Linked DNA regions of Homo sapiens: regions 1, 2, 3, 4 and 5 are each linked to region 6. The links are contacts of gene promoters, found by promoter capture Hi-C in blood cells and fetal thymus (Javierre and others, 2016). All regions are on one chromosome and are shown on one strand. The core of a region is centred on a gene start or on the middle of the fragment in contact, and the rest is flanking DNA. Distances in the headings are between cores, read along the strand shown. Region 1 overlaps CMC2 (C-X9-C motif containing 2). Region 2 has its middle 3.3 kb from the start of GCSH. Region 3 overlaps DYNLRB2 (dynein light chain roadblock-type 2). Region 4 holds the start of C16orf46 (chromosome 16 open reading frame 46). Region 5 holds the start of GAN (gigaxonin). Region 6 holds the start of MON1B (MON1 vesicular trafficking associated B).

Region 1 (3,937 bases), core at 75-2,574, 3.8 Mb after region 6:
ACTTCCCATTCAATAAATGGTGCTGGGATAGTTGGCTAGCTATATGCAGAAGAATAAAAGTGGACCCCTACCTTTCATCATATACAAAAATTAACTCTAGATAGATTACAGATTTACACAGAATGCCTCAAACTATAAGAATCCTAGAAGAAAACCCAGGAAACACCATTCTGGACATTCACCTTCGGAAGAGAATTAGGACTAAGTACTCAAACACAATTACAACAAAAACTGAAACCTAATTAAAGATCTCAAAACAGCAAAAGAAACTATGAATAGAATAAAGACAACCTACAGAATAGGACAAAATATTCACAAACTATGCATCCAACAAAGGTCTAATATCCAGAATCTATAAAGAAATTAATTCAACAAGTAAAAAATAAATAATCCCATTAAAAAGTGGGCAAAAGGCTGGGCACGGTAGCTCACACCTGTAATCCCAGCGCTTTGGGAGGCCAAGGCAGGCAGATCACAAGGTCAGGAGTTCGAGACCAGCCTGGCCAATATGGTGAAACCCCATCTCTACTAAAGATGCAAAAATTAGCCGGGTGTGGTGGCGGGCGCCTGTAGTCCCAGCTACTCGAGAGGCTGAGGAAGGAGAATCGCTTGAACCCAGGAGGCGGAGGTTGCAGTGAGCCAAGATGGCGCCACTGCACTCCAGCCTAGGTAACAGAGTGAGACTCCGTCTCGAAAAAACAAAACAAATAAACAAATTTTAAAAAAAAGTGGGCAAAAGACATCAACAGCCACTTCTCAAAAGATATACAAGTGGCCAAAAAACATGAAAAAATGCTCAACATCACTAATCATCAGAGAAATGCAAATCAAAACCACAATGAGATATCACCTCACATCAGTGAGAATGGCTATTACTAAAAAGTCAAAAAAACACAGATGCTGGGGGAGGTTGTGAGAAAAGAGAATGCTTATACACTGTTGTGGGAATGTCAATTAGTTCACCCACTGTGGAAAGCAGTCTGGAGAGTTCTCAAAGAGCTTAAAACAGCTACCACTAGATCCAGCAATCCCATTACTGGGTATATAGCCAAAAGAAAATAAACCGTTTTACAAAAAGAAAAACATGCACTCATAAGTTCTTTGTAGCTCTATTCACAATAGCAAAGATATGGAATCAACCTAAGTGTCTATCAGTAATGGATTGGATAAAGAAAATATGTACATATACACCATGGAATACTAAACAGCCATAAAAAAGGACGAAATTATGTCCTTTGCAGCAACATGGATGCAGCTGGAAGCCATTATCCTAAGTGAATTAACGCAGCAACAGAAAGCCAAATATGGCATATTCTCACTTATAAGTGGGAGCTAAACACTGGATACTCACAGACATAAAGATGGCAACAAAAGACATTGGGGACTAATAGACGGTAGAAGGAGGGTAAGGGCTGAAAAACCATTAGGTACTATGCTCACTTACCTGCATGATGGGATCAACAGTACCCCAAACCTCAGTGTCATCCAATGTACCCATGTAAGAAACCTGCACATTACTTATATCCAAAATCTGAAATAAAATTTGAAATTATATATTTTTTAAAAGGCAAATACTTTAACATTCCACTTATACGAGGCACCTAAAGTAGTCAAAATCAAAGAGACGGAAAGTGGAATGGTGGTTACCAGAGGGAGGTGGAAGGGCAGGAGGAGATGAATGGGGAGTTACTGTTTAACAAGCAGTTTTACAAGATAAAAAGTATTATGGAGATGGACGGTGGTGATGGTTGCACAACATTATTAATGTATCTGATACCACTGAACTGTGCATTTAAATGGTTAAGATGGTAAATTTTATGTTACGTGCATTTCACCATGCGAATTTTATGGTATGTAAATTATACCTCAAGCTGTTAAAAAAAAACCTGTGAGAAATTCAAACTGCCCATCCACCTCCCACTCAACAGAAACAAAAAACTGTCTGAACAAATAATTCCAAAGGATTATAGCATAGCTACTATTTCAATTGCAACTTATAAAAATGCAGTAGGTCCCTGTACTATTCAGTAACTACTAAACACACACACACACACACACACACCACAGCTGAAGACCACAAATAAAGCCATTGCACCTAGTTAAGTATTCATTTGAAACGAAAAAAGAAAATGCAGCCAAGTTTAAATTTTGTTTGCCTGCCACTGACTCCAAGATCCTTCCAATGATATCAATTTTTGCCTTAGAAAAATTAAGTTTCATACAGTTCAGCAATTTAAGTTATCCAATATCGTACCAATATTCTGCACCTACATTTATGTGAAGTGTTAGTTTTCTGGTTTCTGCCTTATTTTTTCCTAAAGAAAACATACACTGGTATAGGCCAGATGCGGTGGCTCACACCTGTAATCCCAGCACTTTGGGAGGCTGAGGCAGGTGGATCACCTGAAGTCAAGAGTTCAAGACCAACCTGGCCAACATGCCGAAACCCCATCTCTACTAAAAATTCAAAAAATTAGCTGGGCGTGTTGGTGGGCGCCTGTAATCCCAGCTACTTGGGAGGCCGAAGCAGGAGAATCACTTGAACCTGGGAGGCAAGGTTGCAGTGAGCCAAGATGGCACCACTGACCTCCAGCTTGGGTAACAGCGCAAGTCTCCATCTCAAAAACAACAATAACAGAAAACAGACACTGGTTTAATCACTAGAAAATGTCTCTAACATTTTCTAAATGTATTTGACAAAATATTTTTGCACATTTCTATCAACCGGCACTCAAATGTGTGCCTTTACAATTCAGAAACAAGCTTATGATGTACTGAAATGATTTCTTTAATTGACAAATACCTGAGAAGACACTTGACTGAGACAATATTAATAGATGCAAAGATGTATATAAGCCTAAGTACATAAAATGGTACATATTTTCCTCCCTCTATAACAAGTTTACCTCAAATACATATGCTATTGTCAATCAGGGTAGGGTACCAATAAAACGTCTTCCCTTCTAATTCACATTATTTAGTTTTACTTTGAATTGACAAATAATAATTGTATATATTTATAAGGCCCTTCTACTTTCTTAGCCTAGATGACTATGTCAAAGAATAAAATGGTTTAATTTCATTTCCTTTTCCTATTCTTGGTAAGAAGCTACTACTTAACCTAAAGCTCTAAACACTCACCTTATCCCTTATCCAACAGATTCCTTGCTTTCCCCATCACTCCCTTCTTTCTTCTACCACATATTTTTAGCTAGATATGTTCTTCCTCCCCTTGCCCTCTACCTACCCGTCACCTATGCTCACTTCCATCCACTTTGTGTCACTTGGCTTTGCCTAAATGTTGGTGCATACACAGATGTACTGCTGTATTCTGGGGTGTAATATGTAAGGTACAACTGTAAAAATGGCAATGTTCTCTCAGAACACATGTAATTAAGTGCTGATGTCTTCCAGCACTCACCTTTAAAAGACTATTCTAGTAACACAATTTAACTCAAAATATATTTAACAAACTGAAGAAACGCTAAATACGTATTCCATATTCTTATTCTTAAAATTTCTTCAAAGTCATAAGAAGATATCAACGTTATTAGTTTAGAAAATAATTTGTTGAACACTTGCCAAGTGCTAAGCACAAGTCTTACAATGCAATAACCTTATGAAACGGGTAGCCTTTTAAATTCAGTTGAACCATGAGAAACTGTCTTTTTATAGGTCAAAATATGCACTGCCCACATTTTCATAGAGAAACTAAGCCCCAGGTCACACAGTAGTTAGCTGCAAAGTCACAACCCAACATAATCTCTAACCATGACAGATTTTTAATCCATGTTCAAAATAGGAAAGACAGGCATTCACAGCAGTTTGTGAATGAAATACATTCAGATGGAAAAACTATTTCCCAAAGAGCTTCTGATTGACTACAAGTTCAAAAGGTAGTCATTCTAGGCCCAAGTTCCAAAGCAGCCAACGTAAT
Region 2 (4,422 bases), core at 24-2,523, 3.9 Mb after region 6:
AAAAAAATTAGGTTCTGGGAAAAACCTCACCTTTAACACAGATTTTATGGAGTGGCCATGAGTCAGCAAAGAAATACTGTTCTGAAAAACACCTTAAGCTACACACACACCTTTAGTACTGTTACAGAAAGGGCTCCCAATCCAGACCCCAAGAGAGGGTTTTTGGACCTCATGCAAGAAAGAATTTGGGGAGAGTCTATAAAGTGAAAGCACGTTTAATAGAGAAGTAAAGAAAAAAAAGAATGGCTTCTTCGTAGACAGAGCAGCAGTATGGCTTCTCGACTAAGTGTACTTATAGTTATTTCTTGATTGTATGCTAAACAAGGGGTGGATCATTCAAGAGTTCTCCAGAAAAGGGGCAGGGATTTCCTAGAACTAACGGTTCCTCCGCTTTTTGGACTATAGGGTAACTTCTCTGGACGTTGCCATTGCATTTGTGAACTGTCATGACGCTGGTGGGAGTTGTTTTTTTTTTAACATGCTAATGCATTATAATTAGCGTATAATGAGCAGTGAGACCTACCAGAGGTCGCCATCTTGGTTTTGGTGAGTTTTGGCCAGCTCCTTTACCGCATCCTATTTTATCAGCAGGGACTTTGTGACCTGTATCTTGTGCCAACCCTAGCTCATCCTGTGACTAAGTGAGGCAGGTGAATCACTTGAGGTCAGGAGTTCGAGACCAACCTGGCCAACATGGAGAAACCCCCGTCTCTACTACAAATCCAAAGTTTAGCCAGGCATGGTGGCAGGTGCCTGTAATCCCAGCTACTCAGGAGGCTGAGGCACGAGAATCACTTGAGCCTGGGAGGCAGAGGTTGCAGTGAGTCGAGATCACGCCACTGCACTCCAGCCTGGGTGACAGAGCGAGACTCTGCTTCAGAAAAAAATACAAATAAAAAGAATGCCTAACCTCCTGGGAATGCAGCCCACCAAGTCTCAGCCTCATTTTACCCAGCCCATATTCAAAATGGAGTTGTTCTTGTTCAAACACCGGAAACAGTACCATAGGGTGCACACCATGGAGTGTGTGTGTGTTTGGGGAGCCCATACGTTGTTGCACTGAGCTTCTGCCCTGCTATGAACTTAGGGTTGCCACCACATCTGTGCAGTGGCTTGCAAGGGCCGTCATGCCCACTTTCTTTTGAGCAAATCATTCCCATCTATTGAGCCTTTGCTATGTGCCTGGCACTATGCACACATCTTTTTAATCCTCTCCAAACCTCTTTCTGGCAGGTGTTACACTCATTTCATAGATGAGGCTCAGAGGTGAAGGCACTTCCGAGGAGTGGGATCGGGGAGGCGTTTTTGTGGCTTAAGTAGCTCCTAGGTGGCAGTAGTAGACCTTGGCCTCTACACTGATTAGAAAGCAACTCTTCTTTTTTTCTTTTTTTTTTTCGAGACGAAGTCTAGCTCTGTCGCCCAAGCTGGAGCGCAGTGGCGTGATCTTGGCTCACTGCAACCTCTGCCTCCCGGGTTCAAGCAATTCTCCTGCTTCAGCCTCCCGAGTGGCTGGGACTACAGGACCACGTGCCACCACGCCCGTCTAATTTTTGTATGTTTAGTAGAGATGGGGTTTCACTATGTTGGCCAAGCTGGTCTCGAACTCCTGACCTTGTAATCCACCCACCTCGGCCTTCCAAAGTGCTGGGATTACAGGCATGAACCACCGTGCCTGGCCAGCAATTGCTCTTAAGCTCTGCTCCGCTTGCTTTCGTTTGGGATGCTGACTGGATCACGCTGGTCTACCCTGCACTACAGATCTTGGCTACCTTCTCTAATGTCAAGATGTTGTTTTCTATTGTTGTTTCATTACAAGACAGTGCAGCATCGTGCCACTTACACCCTAACATATTTATTCTCAGCTTCACTAACTCATGTGATGGGAAGAAAAAGATCACACATCAACATCAACATATGGGCTACAAAAAGGCCCTTCCACCAAAAAATATGACATGTGTTTTTCTTTTGGTAAAAAGCATTGAAGACAGTCAAAATTTTTTTTCTTTTTCTACCTAGTAATCTTTGTAACCTCCTGGTTTGAGATTTTAAAGGTCATCTCGTTGCCCATTGAGTATAAGCTCTGGAAAATTCCAGGTGGTCATTTCTTCCAGGTGTTTTGAGAGGGGCCCATTCATCTCTTTGAGCTGATAGACATATTTTCCTCTTATAACAATACAGTAGACTGGGTGCGGTGGCTCATGCCTGTAATCCCAGCACTGTGGGAGGCCTAGGTAGGCAGATCACTTGAGGCCAGGAGTTCAAGACCAGCCTGGCCAACATGGTGAAACCCCGTCTCTACAAAAAAATACAAAAATTACCCAGGCATGCTCTTGTGTGCCTGTAGTCCCAGATACTGGGAAGCCTGAGACACAAGAATCATTTGATCTTGGGAGGCAGAGGTTTCAGTGAGCTGAAATCATGCCACTGCATTCCAGCCTGGGCAACAGAGCAAGACCCTGTCTCAAACAAACAAACAAACAAACAAAAAAACTTTTATAAACCAGTATTCCCCATATTTATTTGACCCAGAAACATTTTTGGAGGAATGACACCTGTTCTGGTTTGAATTGTGGCTCCTAAAGAGGTATGTCAAAGTCCTAAGTCCCAGTTCTTCAGATGTGACCATATTGGGAAACAGGATCCCTGCAGATGTATTATAATTAGTTCAGATGAGGTCACCCTGGACTAGGGTGGGCCCCTAATTCAATATGGCTGGTGTGCTGAGAAAAGGAGAAGGAACACAGGCTCCCAGCAAGCTTCTTCCCATCTGGGAGTGACACATCTAGAAGCCAAGGGACACCAAGGCTGGCTGGCCAACACCAAAAGCTGGAAGAGGCAAGAAGGATTCTTCCCTAGAGCCCTCAGAGGGAGCATGGCACTGCCAACATCTTTTTTCTTTCTTTTCTTTTTTTTTTTTGTGAGACGGAGTCATGCTCTGTCGCCCGGGCTGGAGTACAGTGGCACCACCTAGGCTCACTGCAACCTCCGCCTCCCGGGTTCAAGGGATTCTCCTGCCTCAGCCTCCTGAGTAGCTGGGACTACAGGCGCCCGCCACCACACCTGGTTAATTTTTGTATTTTTAGTAGAGACAGGGTTTCACCCTGTTGGCCAGGCTGGTCTCGAACTCCTGGCCTCAAGTGATCCGCACGCCTCGGCCTCCCAAAGTGCTGGGATTACAGGCGTGAGCCACCATGCCCGGCCACTGCCAACATCTTGATTGCACACTTCCAGGCTCCAGAGCTGGGACAGAATGCATTTCTGTCGTTTTAAGCCACTTCGTTTGTGATACATTGTTCTGGGAAACTAATACAGCATCCATTAGCATCTCTCAGACAGTTTGAGAAGCCCTGAACTAGAATCATTCAAAAGCAACCCCCAACGGACTAAAAAGACGAAATAATTAGTCTGTGCAGGAAATTTTCCAAACTCCATGTAATATTTGTTTTATTTATAATAAGAGGAAATACATTTGAACAAAGAAGCTCTCATAGTATTGGCAATTTTACATATATCTCTGTTATTGTAATTTTTTTTACTTGCTGGGCTTGGTAATTCTTCAATGGACATGAAAGCTATGACCTAGAGAGACTATAGAGTCGCTGGTAAGCGTACGCCCGAGGCCCTGGGCGTCCCCACTGGTAGATGGTGGCGTGTGGACGAACAGCTTAGTCCTTGGGCAAAGCTTGTGCTGGTCGAGAGTGGCGAGTCTGGGACAGAGACCCAGGCTGCTCCCTGCTGCTTCCAGGCTCCTCTCTCTTAGACTTAATGCCCAGGAAACTGAGTATTTTCATCAGCAGCAAATCTACGATCTCCCCTTCCTCCGACAGCTGCAAGAGAAAGAACCAGGCAATGCCCATAGAACCATCTTCTTTGGGGGCTTTTCTTTCTAAGGGGAAGTCATAGTTTTTATTTTTATTTATTTTATTTTATTTTATTGTTTGAGATGGAGTCTCACTGTGTCGCCCAGGCTGGAGTGCAGTCGCACAATCTTGGCTCACTGCAACTTCCGCCTCCCGAGTTCAAGCGATTCTCCCGCCTCAGCCTCCCGAGTAGTTGGGATTACAGGCACCCGCCACCACGCTCAGCTAATTTTTGTATTTTTAGTAGAGAGAGAGTTTTACCATGTTGGCCAGGCAGGTATCAAACTCCTGGCATCTAGTGATCCACCTGCCTCGGCCTCCCAAAGTGCTGGGATGATTACAGGCTTGAGCCATCGCATCATCCCTGGCCGAAATCACAGTTTTATTGTCCAGTTTGGTCTCAACCTAGGTTACTTCACTGTTGAGAGCTGTTTTAGGGCAGAAAGGCCTCCCTCTGGGAATGCCAAGGGTGTGTGCTCCATCCTTTATCCTCAGCGGGCTCCCTCCACCTCTCTGATGAGGATGACTGAGTTTTCACTGCCACATTTCAAATTCCCAAGCC
Region 3 (4,321 bases), core at 296-2,795, 3.4 Mb after region 6:
GGAAAGTTTCCAAAGAGGGGGCGGGAGGCCGAGATGGAGAGGAAAAAAAATCAGACCCTTAGAGAGAAGGAAGAGGTGGGACAGGGAAAGCAAGGGAATGGAAGGGTGAGAAGGGAAGATACTGAGAAAGAAGAAAGGGAAATAAAGAAAAAGGAAAGAAGTGATGGGAGACCCGCCCCCCTCCCCCCCAGAAAAAGAGGTAAGAAAAAAAAAAGTAGAGACTGTGGAAAGCAAAGGGCGTTAAGAGAAGAATGAAACGGGGATTGGAGATGGGGATTAAGAAATTATACTAGGAGCACTTACAAATCATGAGAAGAGAAACAACTGGGTGGAGAAATGGAAAGGCCAGGGAAAGAAAAGAAAGGAGTTTGGGAGATAAGTAAAGGGAGAAAGATAAATAAGGACACAGTGGCTGTAAGAAGCTGTGGACATCGTCTTAAAGATTGCCCAAAATGCAGTGAATTATTGATCCCCTGTTCAACGCTTACGGTTTAGTGTAGTGTTTCTCAAAGTCAGATGCAAACATTCGTTGCTACATAAGATGGCCGAGAAATGCTAAATAAGAGTGAATCACATCGTGAGAAAGTTATTCCTCTTCCATTTTGTTCAACCTTCAGACTACATACAGGAGAAAATTTCTGTTGCTATTAGGTCCTTAATACCACTGTCATTTGGAAATTTCCATTTTTTCATCCGAAGAGCAGGCCTCAGGCTCAGAGCTTTCATTGCAGTAGAATTTAATGATAGGCTCTCTCTTCATTTTGTTCATTTTGTTTGTTTTACAGTTATTTCTATTTATGAGGAATAACGTCAGGTTTCCATTTGTGGTAGTGACATACGATTTCCTCTTAAAATGCATTTATTTAAGCTTTTAGCAGTGAGATAATTTAAAGAACACCTAGATAAATAGTATACATGGCATTCATAATGGCAAGAATCATGAATCTAGTACACAAATGCCTAAAGTCAAGAAAACCTTGGCTCTGATGCTGAAATAGAGAAAATAAGTGCTCCTGCCCATACCAAGTACAAAGGAAAACTATCTTGAAGTAACAAAATGTTCACCTGTGCAATACTGAGGAAAAAAGAATATAGCAAACCCTCATCAAGAGAATTTGCAGAATTCAAAATATCCAGTGATTGCTCAGTCATGAAAAATTTGCAGGTTTGGAAAAGATCGTTCTTGTCTTTGAGTTTTCTACAGGGGAAGAAAACATACAATACACTCTACACATAAGATTCCGAATGAGTTTAAAACACAATAATAGATTCCAGAATAATCACTCATAGTTGAACATTCAGCTTGCACTGAGACGCAAGCTATAGTTATCAAGAAAATCCTAGAATCCTGGAATACTTTGTTTTTATAGACTATCCTTTAAATTTAATCATCCGAACTGATTAGGTCACATTAATGAAAATAAGATTTCTCAATAAGGACTACTTTTAGACAGAGGGAGGCCATGATATAGCTCTATAAATATTTAAAGCACTGTAATGTAGAAAAGGAATTTTCATTTGAATACAGCAGGGTCAATGAATGAAAGATAATCTGGGACAAATTTCCATGCAATGTAAAGAATACTTTTCTAGTAAATGGAAACAGATAAAAATGGAGTGAACTCCTGTGAGGCAGTAAGCTCTCTGTCTCTACAAGGGTTCAAGCCAAGAGATTCATCAGGATTGTATCCAGGAGGTCTTACGTAGGTATTTATGTGGGACTTGACAATTTCTAAGCTGTCTTTTAAAAATCTGAGATTATCACACCTGGCACCTTAGGTTAAGGAGATAGGAGAGTAGGTATCTTGCTAAACATTATTCTCCTTAGGGTTGAAGTTACCACAGGGCCCTTTTGGTTAATTATCTTCCTGGTCTCTTTCAGGCAGAGGTGGAGGAAACCTTAAAGAGGATCCAGAGTCATAAAGGGGTTATTGGAACTATGGTTGTAAATGCAGAAGGTAAATATATCACAGGCTGTCTTCTTGACACACAGAAGCCAACCAGGAACCTGTTTGCCGTGTTAGTCCTTAAGACAAACATCTTCGAATTTGACATCAAAAATATATTTATATATTTTAGCTCTGGCATTCACTTACCAAACATCTATTGAGTATCTGTTATATGCCAAACACTCTGCTAAGATCTGGGGGCATAAATATGAATAAGACATGTCTAAAAATCTCTATATACTCCTAAGAAGCACTATACATTGTTTACTTTTTAAAGCTTTGGTAATTCTCTTCCAACATTTCAGAAGTGCCAATAAAACTATCATATAGAAGATAGGGAGAATATCATTGTTGGTGGGTTGTTTGCGTTTCAACATTATGAACCATACAGAATTTCAGTGTTTATTTTAAATGGAACTTGTTCCTTGAACATATTTTATTTAAAAATCTTTGAGAATTAACGATATCATTTATAATATAGTCTTTGTGGATATAGCATAAGAAGGCCCTACATATTTCCAACTATGAAATCTGTAGACTTACCAGAAACTTGCTCTTGCTGCACGATCCTTGTTAAGAATCCACATCACATTTACTTTGGCACATTGCTCCACGCTCAGCTATGGTGGCAACCTCTTAAGAGTTCATGCTAGTTTCATTGCTAATTCAGACATTTGTAAGGGCAAGGAGTGCCAGAAATTCCAGAGCATTAGTTAAAATAAGAGTAGCTACTTTACATAATTTGTGGTGCAACCATGGAATTGGCCTATTACCAACTCAGTGCCTTGGAAAAATCCATCAGTAAATATTTATTAAGCAACTACCAACTGAAAGTCTGCTTAAATTCTGAACTACAACTCCTTACCACTAAGAATGGACAATAACCTATTTTACTGGGGGTTTTCATTGTTAAATGAGACAATAATTGTTGAGTGCTTGGCATAATACCCAATACTTGATAGTAATTAAATAGTTATGAGAATGTGAGGATTTTTAATTCATTTATACAGTTAAAACATTTGTTTTATAACCAGCAACTCAAGGCCAAATGAGTGAGAGAGATAATAGAACATAATAAATTTTCGAGCTTGAATAATCAGGGGGAAGAGAGGATTTAAGATCTGCCTTCCAGGTAAGTCACAAACTATGCGTAATATTTCCAGGAAGCATTCCAGCCCTAGTACGTGGATCTGGTTGCATTGATTTTATTTCCAGGTATTTGCATACACTCTGCCACAGCTCCGAAGATGAGCCGTCCATGTGATTTCATAGAGATGGTGTGTTAGTTTCCTTTGGCTACAGTAACAAACTACAACATGCCTGTTAACTTAAAACAACAGAAACGTATTCTCTTCCAGTTCTGGAGGTTAGAAGTTGAAATCAAGATGTCCGAAGGCTCATGCTGTCTCTGAAGACTCTGTGGGAGGACCATTCCTTACCTCTTCCTAGCTTCTGGTAGTTGTCAATCTTTAGTGTTCCTTGGCCTATAGACACATCACTCCGATCTCTGCCGCCATCATCACGTAGCATTCTCATCTTTGTGTCTGTCTGTCTGTTTCATTATAAGAACCCCAGTTATTGGATTAGGGCCTACCCGAATCCAATGTGACCTCATCTTAACTAATTATATGTGCAAAGACCCGTTTCCAAATAAGGCCACCTTCTGAGGTTTATATTGGACTTGAATTTGGGGATTTGGGGGGTCTAGGGGGACACTCTTCAACCCTGTACAGGTGCATTCACCTGTGACAGCCAGAACCACTCATCTAATGTGATTCTTTGGAAGATCTTGGTCTAAAGTAGGTAATCCTGGTGATATGCCTCAAAGGTCTGAAAAATATTCACCCCCTTTGATCTATAATTTTACTCCTAGCAATTTATCCTAAAGAGTGATGAAGAAAATATCTAGGTATGAGGATACTCACTGAGGCATCATATATAATAGCAATAAATAAATAAACAGAAAAAATAAGTAAATAAATGTATCCTAACAGTAGGGGAATTTTTAAAGTAACTAATTTTACTTGATGAACATTACTCTATTTAAAAGGTTGAAGACTGTTTAGTGTCTTGGGAAACTACTCACAGTATTAGATGAAAAAAGCAGAGAACAAAGCGGTCACCGGCATGTTCTAATCCTATTTATGGCCAGGTGCACACATACACTTCAAATAAATAGGAAAGGAAGGGTAGGGATATGTTACAGTGATCACCCTGGGTAGTGAGATGAAAAGTGATTTTCACTTTATTTTCCTGAGGTTCCTCAATTAACACTTCTCTTATCCGAAGGCAACAAAATATTATTTTCAGTACCCATTAGCTTCTTTTTTTTTTTTTTTTTTTGAGATGGAGTCTCTCTCTGTCATCCAGGC
Region 4 (4,326 bases), core at 1,566-4,065, 3.9 Mb after region 6:
CCTACAGGTCACAGGAACCTCAAGTATTTCACAGAATGATGCCAAGGAGCGCAGTTTCTACACCATCCCTCCCGATCAGACCACATCTATTCCAATCTCAGTCTCAAACTCTTCCCCTTTTTCAACTCACATTAATGAATTCACTAAGTACCTAGCACTGAGAATAAAAAGCTAAAGCAGCATCCGTCTTCTCTACTCTCACACAGCTTACAGTCCACAGCAAAGCGCAAGTCATCAAACACACGCGCTCCACCTGCCACCCCTAAAGCCCAGGCGCATCACGCTCGGCTCCACCTCTTCATCTAGCCCCGCCCCTTCCTGCAGGCCACACCCCTTTCTCTATCAGGCTCCTCCCTTTATGCCATAAGCCTTTTTTCCTCATCTAGCTCTTCCCCTTCCTCCGCCAGTTCCTACCGTGCCACAAAGACGCCTGCCCTTCTTTCAAACTATCCCATTCAGAAAAGCGTTCTGGATTGCCCGTTCGAATTCCTCCCCGTCCTCCGTCTACCCACCCTTAAAGGGTTCCGCTCCCAACGGATCCTCCTCAGGCCCCGCCCCTCCCCAGACCCCGCCCGCTCTGGGGAAGCCCCGGCACATAGTGCCTCTGCCTTTCGCTCCCTCTCGCTTCCTTTCGAACGAGGCAGGGACTCTCGCTCTGTCGCCTTTGGAGTGGTCCCGGGCCTTGCCCCAGGGGTGGAGAAATGGCCGCTCACACCTACCTGTGGGGCCAAGCGGATGGAAGGCCCCGAGACAGCTAGTCCCGGCCTACTGGCAAGAGCTACTCAGGTCGCTGCCGGATGGGCCGTTGCCTTGGGTTACGACCACGCTGGGGGCGGGACCGCGGCGGAAGTGACGTAGCCCAACAAAGCCTAGCACTGGCGAGGCGGTTCGTGGCATCTCCTATCCGCTCCGGGCGCTGCCGCCGGAAGGGCCAGCGACGGAGGGTCTCAGATGGCGGGGCTTGAGGCCCACCCGGGCTCTCGGGTCGGCGAGTCCCGTTGGGGAGCCCTTGTGCCTGCTAGGATATTTAGCAGATGCCAGGCGGCCAGAAACGTCCTCACTTTTCTCCCTCGGCCCTCTGGGGAACCGCCGTGAGCGTTTCCCACGGACACAAACTTAACAGGCCCAGAACGTCCAGGGAGGACGCGTTGTGAGCCTCAAAGAGCCCACTTACGTGACCGACAGCACCAGGCCGACGGGCACTCGCTGAACTGCTGGCCCGGAGCAGCACAGCTCTTAAGTGGGCAGTGGCATCTTTTATACAAATAAAGGAAGGTGGCCCCACGTCCCTAAAACAACAGCTTGCTGAAGAGAGATCGCAAAGCATCCCCCACTCCAGCTCGGGTCTGACTCCAAAGCCCTTCTGCTTTAGAAAGTGTGACTATTTCTGCTGTAGAAAACCGGTATCTAGGCCAGGCGCGGTGGCTCACGCCTGTAATCCCAGCACTTGGGAGGCCGAGGTGGGTGTATCACCTGAGATCAGGAGTTCGAAACTAGCCTGGTCAACATGGCGAAACCGTGTCTCTACTAAAAATACAAAAATTCGCCGGGTGTGGTGGCGGGCGCCTGTAATCTCAGCTATTTGGGAAACTGAGGCAGGAGACTGGCTCGAACCCGGGTGGCGGAGGTTGCAGTGAGCTGTGATGGCACCACTGCACTCCAGCCTGGAGAGCAAAACTCAAGTCTCAAAAAAAATTTTGGTATCTAAGTTCTCTAGCACTGTGATTGCTCCAATGAGACGGATTCAGCTATAATTCTATTCCAACTTTTTTCATACGTGTAAGCTTAGGTACCTTGTTCACATAAATAGGAAGATGCAAATAAAAGGGGTTTTATTGTATCTCAAGCTAGTAAGTATTAACCAAAAACATTTAAATGTTTTATCAGTTGACAATTTGTTTTGGTCTTCCTTCAGATCTATTGAAAACAGCTGGGCACCGTGGCTCACACCTGGAATCCCAGCTGAGGCAGGAGGCTCCCTTGAGCCCAGGAGTTGAAGGTTGCAGTAAGCTATGATTGTGTCACTGCACTCCAGCCTGGGAAACAGTGCAAGACCTTGCATATTAGAAAAAAGTTTCTGGGAAGTATACCAAAAGTCTTAACTAAGATTTGCTAAATGAATATTAATTAAATAACCTAACGGCAAGTACATGGGGAAGTTGGAGGATCTAGAACCTGACTTCCTTCACACTAACTATTCCTGCATTTAGCAGGTAAAAGCCCGATAGCATGATTGAGTGGAAACATGAAGGGACAAGGGTTTGGCTAGTTATGTTTATAAAAAGTCAACATAGGAATTGAGTCAAGATACCAGAAACTCTACTTATAGTAAGATCCCACTTTGCAAAAACGGAGAATGGAAGCGTACAGAACTGTACCTTCTCCTCAATTTTGCTGTGACTGTAAACTTCCTCTAACACATAAAATGTATTTTAAAGAAAAAAAGCCAGGAGTGGTGGCTTGCGTCTGTAATACCAGTTACTCACAGGAGAGGCTAAGGCAGGAGAATCACTTGAGACCAGCTTGGGAAGTGTCACAAGACCCCATATCTATTTTTTAAAATTAAAGGGAGATGGGTGGGTGCGGTGGCTCACACCTGTAATCCCAGCACTTTGGGAGGCTGAGGCGGGTCAATCACTTGAGGTCAGAAGTTCAAGACCAGCCCAGCCAACATGGCGAAACCCCATTTCAAAACCCTAATACAAAAATTAGCCGGGTGTGGTGATGGACGCCTGTAATCCCAGCTACTCAGGAGGCTGAGGTGGGAGAATCACCTGAACCCGTGAGGTGGAGGTTGCAGTGAGCCAAGATCGCACCATTGCACTCCAGCCTGGGCGGCAGGAAAGGCCTGTTGCAGGGAAGAAAGAGGAATTTAATCCTGGTGTAAAGAAAGGCACCTCTTTAAGTATGGGAAGGAAGGTGTGATTTGGTCTGAAAGAACACAGTAAAAAAGACACGCTTGTAGTTAGCATAATTTTTTAAACTGTGCTCTTTTTAGTAGCCCCAGAAAAACTATAGAAATTGGAAAAATTCAGCAGCTGGGCGCGGTGGCTCACGCCTGTAATCCCAGCACTTTGGGAGGCCGAGGCGGATGGATCACGAGGTCAGGAGATCGAGACCATCCTGGCTAACTCAGTGAAAGGCCGTCTCTACTAAAAATGCAAAAAATTAGCCGGGCGAGGTGGCAGGCGCCTGTAGTCCCAGCTACTCGGGAGGCTGAGGCAGGAGAATGGCGTGAACCCGGGAGGCGGAGCTTGCAGTGAGCCGAGATCGCGCCACTGCACTCCAGCCTGGGCGACAGAGCCAGACTCCATCTCAAAAAAAAAAAAAAAAAAAAAAAAAGAAAAAGAAAAGAAATTGAAAAAATTCAGAAATTCTGATTTGCTGAGGAACTGATCTGAATGGCCAGCCTCATTTTCATAGTAGTATGCCCATGCAGAGCTCCCTAGTGGTTTATTAAAACCTAAAACTGGCCAGGCGCGGTGGCTCACACCTGTAATCCCAGCACTTTGGGAGGCCGAGGCGGGTGGATCATCTGAGGTCAGGAGTTTGAGACCAGCCTGGCCAACATGTCGAAACCCCATCTTTACTAAAAATACAAAAATTAGCTGGGCATGGTCGTGGTCCGGGTGCCTGTATTCCCAGCTACCCTGGAGGCTGAGGCAGGAGAATTGCCTGAATCCGGGAGGTGGAGGGCCTGGGCAAAAGAGCGAGACTCCGTCTCAAACAAAACAAAAAACAAAACAAAACCTAAAGCTAACGACAAAACTACCTGGGAGGTGATAGCAGAAAAAAAATTTAACACTTGCAGGGTAACCTATTCAGTTTCTCAAGTTTTAGTTACTAGAAAGCTTTCTTCAAAACTTCTATTAATCTGCTCTACTAATGCCAAAACCATTCAAAAGGAATATGAGGTCATGAAAATTAAATTCCCTGGATTCAGTCAATTTGGAGGGCCATTCAAAGCCTGTATTTTTGGCAGCACTGTGACATCAATGACAGTGGATTTGGCTCTGTGTTCTAAATAGTGGAAGAGCAAGTTGCCAAATGTTCTGCTCTTTGAAAAAAGAGGGGTTGTTACAGAGCAAGTTATGTGTGTCTTTGGCAGGAAAAGGGAAAAATAAAAAACTGCCCACCTTCTTCAGAGACTATAACCACTCACGGACTTTCATACTCTAGAATGGCCACTTTTGCTTCCCACCTTTATTTAGAACATTCAACCTCCCCCTCTTCCCTGAGATTCCCATTAAAAATTTTTTTTTTTTTTTTTGAGACGGAGTCTCGCTCTGTTGCCCAGGCTGGAGTGCATGGCATCATCTTGGCTCA
Region 5 (4,114 bases), core at 555-3,054, 4.1 Mb after region 6:
ACCCCATCTCTACTAAAGATGCAAAAGTTAGCCAGGCATGGTGGCACATGCCTGTAGTCCCAGCTACTTGGGAGGCTGAGGCAGGAGAACCACTTGAACCCGGGAGGCGGAGGTTGCAGTGAACAGAGATTGCACAACTGCACTCCAGCCTGGGCAATAGAGGGAGACTCCATCTCAAAAAAAAAAAAGAAAGAAGAAAATATTTTTCAACATCCACAAAAATATAGAAACAGTACAATGAATCTCCACATCCCCATTAAACATCCACAACAATATAGAGACAGTACAACGAATCTCCACATCCCCATTACGTGGCTTTAACAATTAGTAACTTGCGGCCACTTTTGACTCATCTACACTCCCATCTGCTTCCCCATCCCTTTGTTTTGTTTTGAAGCAAATCCTAGACATCTTTATCATTGCATCCGGGAACACTGAGCTGCATTTACAGAAGAAAGTGGAAATGCATGTGTCTTCCACAGCCGTACCCTCCCCATCTATTCTGCCCTGAAAACAGTTAGATACTCGGATTCCTGCCAGTGACTCCAAAGCCTTGGCTGGTTCAGGGTAAATACCCAAGACTTTATTGGAGCCTTTCAGTTGGTTGAAGGACAGTGAAAATTCCATCCTGTCTTGCCTGGAATGCTAGCCACATTCTTCTGGTCCGGAGTCCTCATACAATTGCTAATTTTTTAGAGGCTTATGGAGTCCCTAACGTTTGCACAAAATGGTTGCTACATTCCACACTCCCATGTGCCCTGAGCAACCTCCAGGGAAACTTCAGATACCGTGGGGCTTGGCCTGCCAGCTGAGCTGACCCAGCGATCCTTTCTATCACAGCTTTGATCTTCACTGGGTTGGGAGCCTGTCTGAATCTAAACATCTGCCTCTCTACTGCCCACCCCTTCAGCATTTCCTAGCTCTCCCTGAAAGGTGCAAACATGCATGCAGTTACTCAAACAGAATATTTATCCTTAACTCCCTCTCCCTCACAATTTCTTTTAAAACAATCCACTATTGTCTACCCCCGCCCCCGCATCACCCTTTCATCCAGGTGCCCATTCCCTTCTCTCTAGTCCTGCAATACCTAAGCATCGATCTGCCTTTAGCACATCCATCCCCGCCTTATTCTCCACGCAGGAGCTGAGTGACCTGCACAAAATCCCCTGCTAAATACGGTACTTCCATGGTTCTTCACCACTGCAGAAACCAAACTCCTTCCCACACCAAGGAGGCCCTGCAAAATTTAAGGCCTCCTTCGGACTTCTCCAGCTTCATCTGCTACATCTCCTTCCTAGCCCGCAACCAAAACCATCTTTTCCGGGTCTGTTTTCTCGGGTTTTTGTCCTCTCACCTGGGCAGCTCCTTTTCTCTCATAAATAAAGAAAGCTACAGCGACTTCGCCCTTGCTTCCATGCATCATCTCATGAGTCCACAACAACACTAAGAATTCGCTTTCATTTTGCAGACGGAGAAACTGAGGATGGGCACCTTACCCATGGCCACAGAGCTAGTAAGTGGAACAGCTGCAACCAGGATTCAAACTCGCGGCTCCAGAGGCCACAGGCTTAACCACGGAATCCTAGCCCGCCCGCACATCCCTCCATCGCGGGAGCGACCTATCTCATCCGTAGACACCTTCCGCTGCACCCAGCCGCAGCTGGTCAGGCGGGCGGAGGAAGGAGGCTTCTGATTGGCCATCTCCAGCAGCGGAGGCGAGAAGGCGGGGAGCGACGGTGCGGGGGCGTCGCGGAGAAATGACTTCATGACGCGGCTTCTTAAAGGCGCCGGCCCAGCGCGCCGCGGATAGCACAGGCACGTCCCGGGGGCTCCAGCTTCTGCTCAGAGCGCGGAGAGCCGGGCCGGGCGGGCGCGCGCGCAGGACTCGGGCCGCTCGAGGGGTCCGGCCGGACGGTGTCGGGAGCCGGACCCGTCGGCAGAGGAGCGGGCGCCGCGATGGCTGAGGGCAGTGCCGTGTCTGACCCTCAGCACGCCGCGCGTCTGCTGCGAGCGCTCAGCTCTTTCCGCGAGGAGTCTCGCTTCTGCGACGCGCACCTGGTCCTCGACGGGGAGGAGATCCCGGTGCAGAAGAACATCCTGGCGGCGGCCAGCCCGTACATCAGGTGGGGAGGGGGCTACGGCGGGCGGGCGCGGCGGTGCTGCCCGGAGCCGGAGGCGGGGCGGCCGGGCCGGGCGTGGCCCCCAGACCCTGTCCCCTGTCCCCGGCGCCGGGGTCCCCGCGTCACCGTTGGCGCGGCGTCCCTCCCGGCAAGCGCCGGAACCCGGCCCCGCTGACCGCGTCCCCCAGGCGGCCTCTGTGGCTTCCAGGCCCGCGCTCCCCACTGGACCCCCGCGCCCCTTGGAGTTGTCCCCGGACCCGGGCCGCGATCCCCCGCCTTGTCCCTCCCGGTTCCCACCGCCGCGGCGAGCGCCCGACCTCGGAGACCCTGAGGCCCCCAGACGCCGTCCTGGGCCGGCCGGGACCCGCACCTGCGGGCTGGGCGAGGCCGCGCCGGGGAAGAGTCACCCCCTCGCCCAGGCCGGGCCCGCGGTCCCCGCTGAAGTTCGCCAGTCGCTCGCCTCTGAATCCACGCGCGGGGGCTGGGCCGGCGCCGCCAACCAGGCGGGGAGCGCCCTGCCCGCTGGGAGGCCAGACAGACAGCGCCTCGCTGGGTGCAGGCAGAGAAAACCCTCTCGATGTTCTCCTTGGGTTGGTAGTCCGAACCTCCGGGCGAAATTCTCCTTGCCAAACGTGTCTTTTCCGCTCCATTCTGGTAACTGTTTAAAAGAGGAGTTACACGTTGAAGTAAACTGTAGCGAATTCTCAGGATGCTGTTACAACCCGAGGACCGTGAGAGCCTTGCGACAAAGGGCATTTTAATACTTTAGTAAAGCAAAGCTTAACCTGATTTGCCAACTCAACTAACCAGGTTAATTAAAAGGTTGATAAGACAGTGCTTATACAAGTGTATCAGATCTTGCAGGAGACTATCTTTTCTTTTAGCAACCTTCTTGCAAACTAGGTTGCTGTTTTAATAAAAGGAAAGGGGGGAATGCTAAAAACTGGAGAAACTGACCAGTAAGCTGGTTAAATATAAGCTAGTGGTAGAGAATATCACTACAATTGACAGGTCAGAAAAAGCAAAATGATGTGTATTCTTAGCGCTTTGTCCCAGCAAAACCACCACGCACGCTACACTTTTAACCTTTGCATTGGGGAGATATCTGTGCTAAACTTAGAAGAAATTCAAGTGCCCTTGTAACTTCTGGTTTCTCTTGGATTTGTTTTGTGAATCCATTTGCGCTCTTTGGCGGTGGGGAGTGTGGAGGGGTGGGGGGGCGGGGCGGCAGTAGGGTCTGGGGTAGCATCGTTAGTACAGAATTTGGATTGCTAATGTGACAGACAGCTTCTAGCTGGCAGTTCCGAGGTTTGAGCAACCCATCCCAAATTGGAGTCAGCAGACCAAAGTCTTCCCTGTTTGGGAAAATGCTGAAGAAAACTACTTTAGATGCATTATTGTTATAGTTCTTTAAATGGCATCCGTTTGGCTTAAAAGAAGTAAATTGCAAATTGCCGAATCCTTGCTTGTTATCCTTGTTCGTTTTTCTCCATAGCACTTACCACTTTGACGTACCCCATATTTTACACATTTACTTTGGTGGTCTTTCCCAACCACAGTGTGACCTCAATGAGGTCGTGGTGTTTTGTTTTGTTTTTCGAGACTGAGTTTCACTCTTTAGCCCAGGCTAGAGTGCAGTGGCGTGATCTCGGCCCACTGCAACCTCCGCCTTCCAGTTTCAAGCGATTCTCCTGCCTCAGCCTCCCGAGTAGCTGGGATTACAAACGCCCGCCACCACGCCCGGATAATTTTTGTATTTTTAGTAGAGTCGGGGTTTTACCATGTTGGCCAGGCTGGTCTCGAACTCCTCACCTCGTGATCCGCCCACCTCGGCCTCCCAAAGTGCTGGGATTACAGGCGTGAGCCGTGGCACCCGGCGGTGTTTTCTTTTATTCACTGCTTTACTCTTTGCACCCAGAAAGAACTGTGCCTATCAGTTAATGTATTGAATGAATGACTGCCTTTCTTTCTACCACAGCAAATGTGTACATTAG
Region 6 (4,297 bases), core at 223-2,722:
ATGGCGAAACCCCATGTCTACTAAAAATACAAAAATTAGCCGGACGTGGTGGCGGGCACCTGTAATCCCAGCTACTCCAGAGGCTGAGGCAGGAGAATTGCTTGAACCCGGGAGACGGAGGCTGCAATGAGTCAATAACATTTTGCCATTGCACTCCAGCCTGGGTAACACAGCGAGATTAATAAATAAGTTTGCTTATGAGATGTTATTTTATTGTACTTTTTTACATGTTTATTATATATTATATACTTCTAAATGTATTAGGTAAATATATTTTGTATGCACATAAATTTATCCATTGTTTCTGTTATATAAATTTAATATTTATTACTTATCGATTACCTATTGTATATAAAGCACATGATGCTACACTGGTATTTGGAATTCATTACCCTAACTATACTGTAATTAAAATAATTATCCTAACTAGTACCAAAGGCTTCCCCTTAGCAATCACTCGAAGTGTGCCAGCACCTCCACTCACTTCACGTCAAGCGATTCCCATCATTGTTTCACTGATGGAGAAACCAAGGCCCAGGGCACTTGGGGCAAGGCGTTCAGGGGGCTTTCGGTCCGGAAGCAGCGTCGGGGCGGGAATTCGAACCCTGGGTTCCCACACTGGCCCGTGGCAGGGCCCCCAAGCCTTTTCCCAAACTGATCACAGAAAGTGACGACCCGTTCGCCCGGCGGACCGGGGGCGTCGGGCAGGTCCTGGTCCAAGTGAGTGCCCGCCCCTGCCCTGGGCTGGCAGAGTTCTTCCCCCAGCTGCAGGTAGACGTGGGAACCCGGCAGGGTACGGAGCTGCTGGCGCGGCACGCTGATTAGAAGCGGCGACTGCCCGTCAAGCATTCGCGCCTCTCCCCTCCCTTGACTTTCTTGGCAGGGTTAAGGGATAAGAGAAAGTGGAGTTGCCTCAGTTCTGGGAGAGCCCGTTTGTGGGTCCGGCACAGGTATCCATCGGGACTGACGCTGCAAAAGTCCTCTTGTGAAACAAGGAATAGGCTCGAGTCTTCGATTGGGTCGAGGGAGACGTCAATCAATGGATGGGCGTGTGCAAACGCAACACAACGCACAGTATTGGTTAGGATTTGGCGGGGGGAGTAGACAGCGGGGAAATGAGGCGGCTCATCTCGATTGGCCCAGAAAGAAGACGGTCGCGCCCTATGTACTCCGGGATTGGCTAGAGCGAGCCGCGTCCCCCCTCACGCCAACCACTGGTAAGCGAAGTGGGCCTCGCTCTCCCGGGTTAGCAGCCGTAGCCAGATCCGTTGAAAGGAGTGCAGAGAGGTCTCATTGCGCTCCCGAACAGACCTGACGTAGATCCGAAGTGGCCCGCGCCATCTCAACTATGAGGGGACACCCGTAGGCGGCGGGAGAGGGACGCCGCGAGGAGCCAATAAAGCTCCGCAACCGGAAGTGTCTTCTGGGAGGGGTCGTACCCGGAAGTGTGGCACCTCCCGGGCCGCACCCGGAAGTGTGATGCCACCGCCGCTACGGGGAAGTAATGGTATCCGGCCAATTGAGATTCGGAGTTAAAACAGGTGTTTGTATATCTCTATTTCCTGAGGCCCAGTAGAGTCTCCTCTTTTCGGAAAGTGTTGGAGGGGGGACGTATTTGGGCATGATTTTGGATGTCTCGTCCTATTGAAATCCGTGGGGAAATGAGCAGTAGGAGTGTGTCCAAGGGGGCCTGACTCTATAAAGGCTTTTCAGAAGTTTCTTTCACCGCCCGTCACCCTCGATTCCCCTCCCACTCAGGGATGTGCAGATGGAGGTCGGAGGAGACACTGCTGCCCCGGCCCCCGGGGGCGCGGAGGACTTGGAGGACACGCAGTTCCCCAGTGAGGAAGCTAGAGAAGGTGGAGGGGTTCACGCGGTCCCGCCGGATCCCGAAGACGAGGGCCTGGAGGAAACAGGTATGACTCCACTTAGTGGGGTCTTAAAAGGAATCCTTAGGGGTTGTCATTGTTGGACGGGGGAAGGGTCAGTGGGTGACCAGTAGGGAGTCTTGGGACTTAAGAGAAGTGGCTTAAACCATCGCCGGGTCAGGAGGAGGTCACTGTGGACACATGGTGTAGTTTACATCATTGAGGAAGTCATTGGCTGTCAACGGATGTTCACTGGGGGTTTGGTGTGAGTTTAGGTCATTGAGGAATCAAAAAGGGGGCTGTTAGGACCAAAGAGGGTCACTGAGGATTTAGAGTGTTTAGATCAAAGAATGCGCTGAAGAAAGTCAATAGACTCAACAGAGGAGGACTGTTGAGAAGTTAGTGTTTTTGAGGAGTAGGGTGTTATTTATTAAATAATAGAAGTGGGAAGGGGAATCAGTGGAGTTCGATGGGCACTCAGAGTATTTACATCATTGAAGTCACTTGTAGACTGTTGGGGAAGTCTTTAAGGGACCAAATGTTAGTGGATGTGTAAAGTTGTTCATTTGAGATTTAATGGAAGTCACTGAGAAGTCTGTGCCATTGATCACTTTGGAATTAGTGGATGTAAATGGAGTCATTGGGAAGGATCAGTGGACCTCACTGAGAATAAATGTGGATGGGGAGGTTGAGGACTTGGGAATTAATAGCAGGTAAGAGCAGTTATTAGGAGGGAGTAAAGATATTTGGGGACATGGGAGTGTCAGTGAATGTCAGTGACAGAATATGCAATTATTGGGATTTTATGGGAAAATTATTGAGACATAGTTGCACATGGATAATAATGGTTGTCATTGGGGGATGAATGGAAATCAATGGGAATAAATGGATGTGTCAGTAGGGGCTGTTGAAGTTGTGGGTTTTAGTGAATGTTAATGATGGTCATGGGTAGGGGCAATGGAAGTCATTAAAGTCTTGTGTGTTAGTGGATATTATGATGGTTACTGTAGGGAGGGGAGTGGATACCAATGAGATTGAAGGTGGTCAGGGGAGTGACTGAAGGTCTCTGAAGTGCTGGGTGTTAGTGGAGGTTAATGATGGTCATTGTTGGGGGTAGGGGGGAGTAGACATGGAGTAGAATAACTTGTGGATCAGGGCAGTCATGGAGGGTCATTGAAAAACCAGGTGTTAATGATTGTTAATGTGGGGTCATTGGGGTGTTTGTGAACCACAGTGGGAGTGAATAGTGGATTAGGGGAGTCCTAAATATCTGGGTGTTAGTGGATATTAACGACAGTCATTGGGAGAAATAGTGGACATTACCAAGAATATAAATGGGCAACCAGGAGAGTTAGTAGGGGTCATCAGGTATCAGTGGGCATCACTGATAGGGTAGTAGCGGGGGTTGGGGCATTCAAACAGTTAAGATATTAATAGATGTTAATGGTGGCCATTGGGTGAGCAGATATCAGGAGAAAAAATAGCGGTCAGAGGAGTTAATGGGGGATCATTGAAGATGAATAATCGTCATCCAGAGTCAATGGGGTGCTTTGAAGACTTTGGAATAACAGTGATTGAAAGGGAAGTAATTGGTCTGTAGGAACATAGCAAGTCCAGTGGAATAACAATGAGAATATGTTGGTTTATTAGGGTTTTAGGAAGTTCATTGGAACCTAAATGTTAGTGGAGATCATTGCGGGGTCCTAGGGCAGTCATCGGGTCATTGAGGGGCATAGGAGACACTTGGAGTTCTGCGTCAGCATGCAGGGGTCATGGAGGGGCTAGTAGATATTTGGTGGGTCCTTGGGGATGTGGGATTAGTTAGGAGTTCACATGCAGATGACCCACCAGGGGCTCCCTTTCAGGATCCAAGGACAAGGACCAGCCACCCAGCCCATCACCACCGCCCCAGTCAGAGGCCCTGTCAAGCACCTCTCGGCTCTGGAGTCCTGCAGCCCCTGAGAATAGTCCCACATGTAGCCCTGAGAGTAGCTCTGGAGGCCAGGGCGGGGACCCCAGTGATGAGGAGTGGCGCAGCCAGCGGAAGCATGTGTTTGTGCTGAGTGAGGCTGGCAAGCCCATCTACTCGCGGTATGGTAGTGTGGAGGCGCTGTCGGCTACCATGGGTGTAATGACCGCCCTGGTGTCCTTTGTGCAGAGTGCGGGAGATGCCATCCGTGCCATCTACGCTGGTGAGCAAACAGGTGGGAGGCAGAATGGGGGACAGTGACTGGGAATATGGCTGGCACGGGTAGGTCTGTCTGCCTCAGGCACTATCCAGCCAGCCAGGGTTGGGTCCATGTGTGTGGATGGTCAGCCAGAGCTCTGTCAGTGGCGGGAGGTGGGGGGGTTCATCTCTGTCTGGCCTGCTGGTTTCTTAGTGATTGACTTGCTGGGATCTCAGTGACTAGCTGGATACTTCTGTGTCA

What was found. Contacts are between HindIII fragments. The CHiCAGO score rates a contact against its expected background, and 5 or more counts as called.
Region 1: a fragment that was not itself captured here is called in contact with the fragment with the promoter of MON1B in region 6 in 2 of 17 cell types (neutrophils and naive CD8 T cells); the score reaches 5.8 in neutrophils.
Region 2: a fragment that was not itself captured here is called in contact with the fragment with the promoter of MON1B in region 6 in 1 of 17 cell types (non-activated CD4 T cells); the score reaches 8.2 in non-activated CD4 T cells.
Region 3: a contact is called between a fragment that was not itself captured here and the fragment with the promoter of MON1B in region 6, in 1 of 17 cell types (naive CD8 T cells). The highest score is 5.7, in naive CD8 T cells.
Region 4: a contact is called between a fragment that was not itself captured here and the fragment with the promoter of MON1B in region 6, in 3 of 17 cell types (non-activated CD4 T cells, naive CD8 T cells and activated CD4 T cells). The highest score is 8.1, in non-activated CD4 T cells.
Region 5: a contact is called between the fragment with the promoter of GAN here and the fragment with the promoter of MON1B in region 6, in 1 of 17 cell types (total CD4 T cells). The highest score is 5.1, in total CD4 T cells.

Annotation. Positions count from the first base shown.
Region 1 is chr16:80,999,804-81,003,740 of GRCh38, forward strand. The region is part of intron 1 of CMC2 (C-X9-C motif containing 2); the gene reads right to left. Among named protein-coding and RNA genes, the nearest start is that of CMC2, 5.1 kb to the right of the region's middle. The HindIII fragment of the contact is 2,873 bases long and covers 1-2,761 here.
Region 2 is chr16:81,097,458-81,101,879 of GRCh38, forward strand. It overlaps the pseudogene PKD1L2. Among named protein-coding and RNA genes, the nearest start is that of GCSH, 3.3 kb to the left of the region's middle. The HindIII fragment of the contact is 2,961 bases long and covers 1-2,754 here.
Region 3 is chr16:80,541,394-80,545,714 of GRCh38, forward strand. It overlaps DYNLRB2 (dynein light chain roadblock-type 2), which reads left to right. Exons shown (of 4, transcript NM_130897.3): 2 at 1,883-1,958. All of the region lies in intron 1 of DYNLRB2-AS1 (DYNLRB2 antisense RNA 1), which reads right to left. Among named protein-coding and RNA genes, the nearest start is that of DYNLRB2, 2.6 kb to the left of the region's middle. The HindIII fragment of the contact is 1,358 bases long and covers 867-2,224 here.
Region 4 is chr16:81,076,417-81,080,742 of GRCh38, forward strand. It overlaps C16orf46 (chromosome 16 open reading frame 46), which reads right to left and starts at 822. Exons shown (of 4, transcript NM_152337.3): 1 at 720-822. C16orf46-AS1 (C16orf46 antisense RNA 1) reads left to right here. Exons shown (of 2, transcript XR_007065137.1): 2 at 8-182. RefSeq lists enhancers at 354-493, 585-1,245, 1,084-1,133, 1,246-1,904. The HindIII fragment of the contact is 2,067 bases long and covers 1,783-3,849 here.
Region 5 is chr16:81,313,158-81,317,271 of GRCh38, forward strand. GAN (gigaxonin) reads left to right here and starts at 1,805. Exons shown (of 11, transcript NM_022041.4): 1 at 1,805-2,123. The coding sequence starts at 1,957. RefSeq lists an enhancer at 1,642-1,841 and silencers at 1,852-2,191, 2,332-2,391, 2,412-2,681. The HindIII fragment of the contact is 5,241 bases long and covers 1-2,897 here.
Region 6 is chr16:77,189,718-77,194,014 of GRCh38, forward strand. It overlaps MON1B (MON1 vesicular trafficking associated B), which reads left to right and starts at 1,473. Exons shown (of 6, transcript NM_014940.4): 1 at 1,473-1,541; 2 at 1,759-1,916; 3 at 3,734-4,060. The coding sequence starts at 1,769. LOC124903725 reads right to left here and starts at 849. Exons shown (of 1, transcript XM_047435021.1): 1 at 191-849. The coding sequence starts at 849. The coding sequence ends at 505. RefSeq lists enhancers at 1,191-2,139, 1,265-1,554, 1,575-1,624. The HindIII fragment of the contact is 24,724 bases long and covers 1-4,297 here.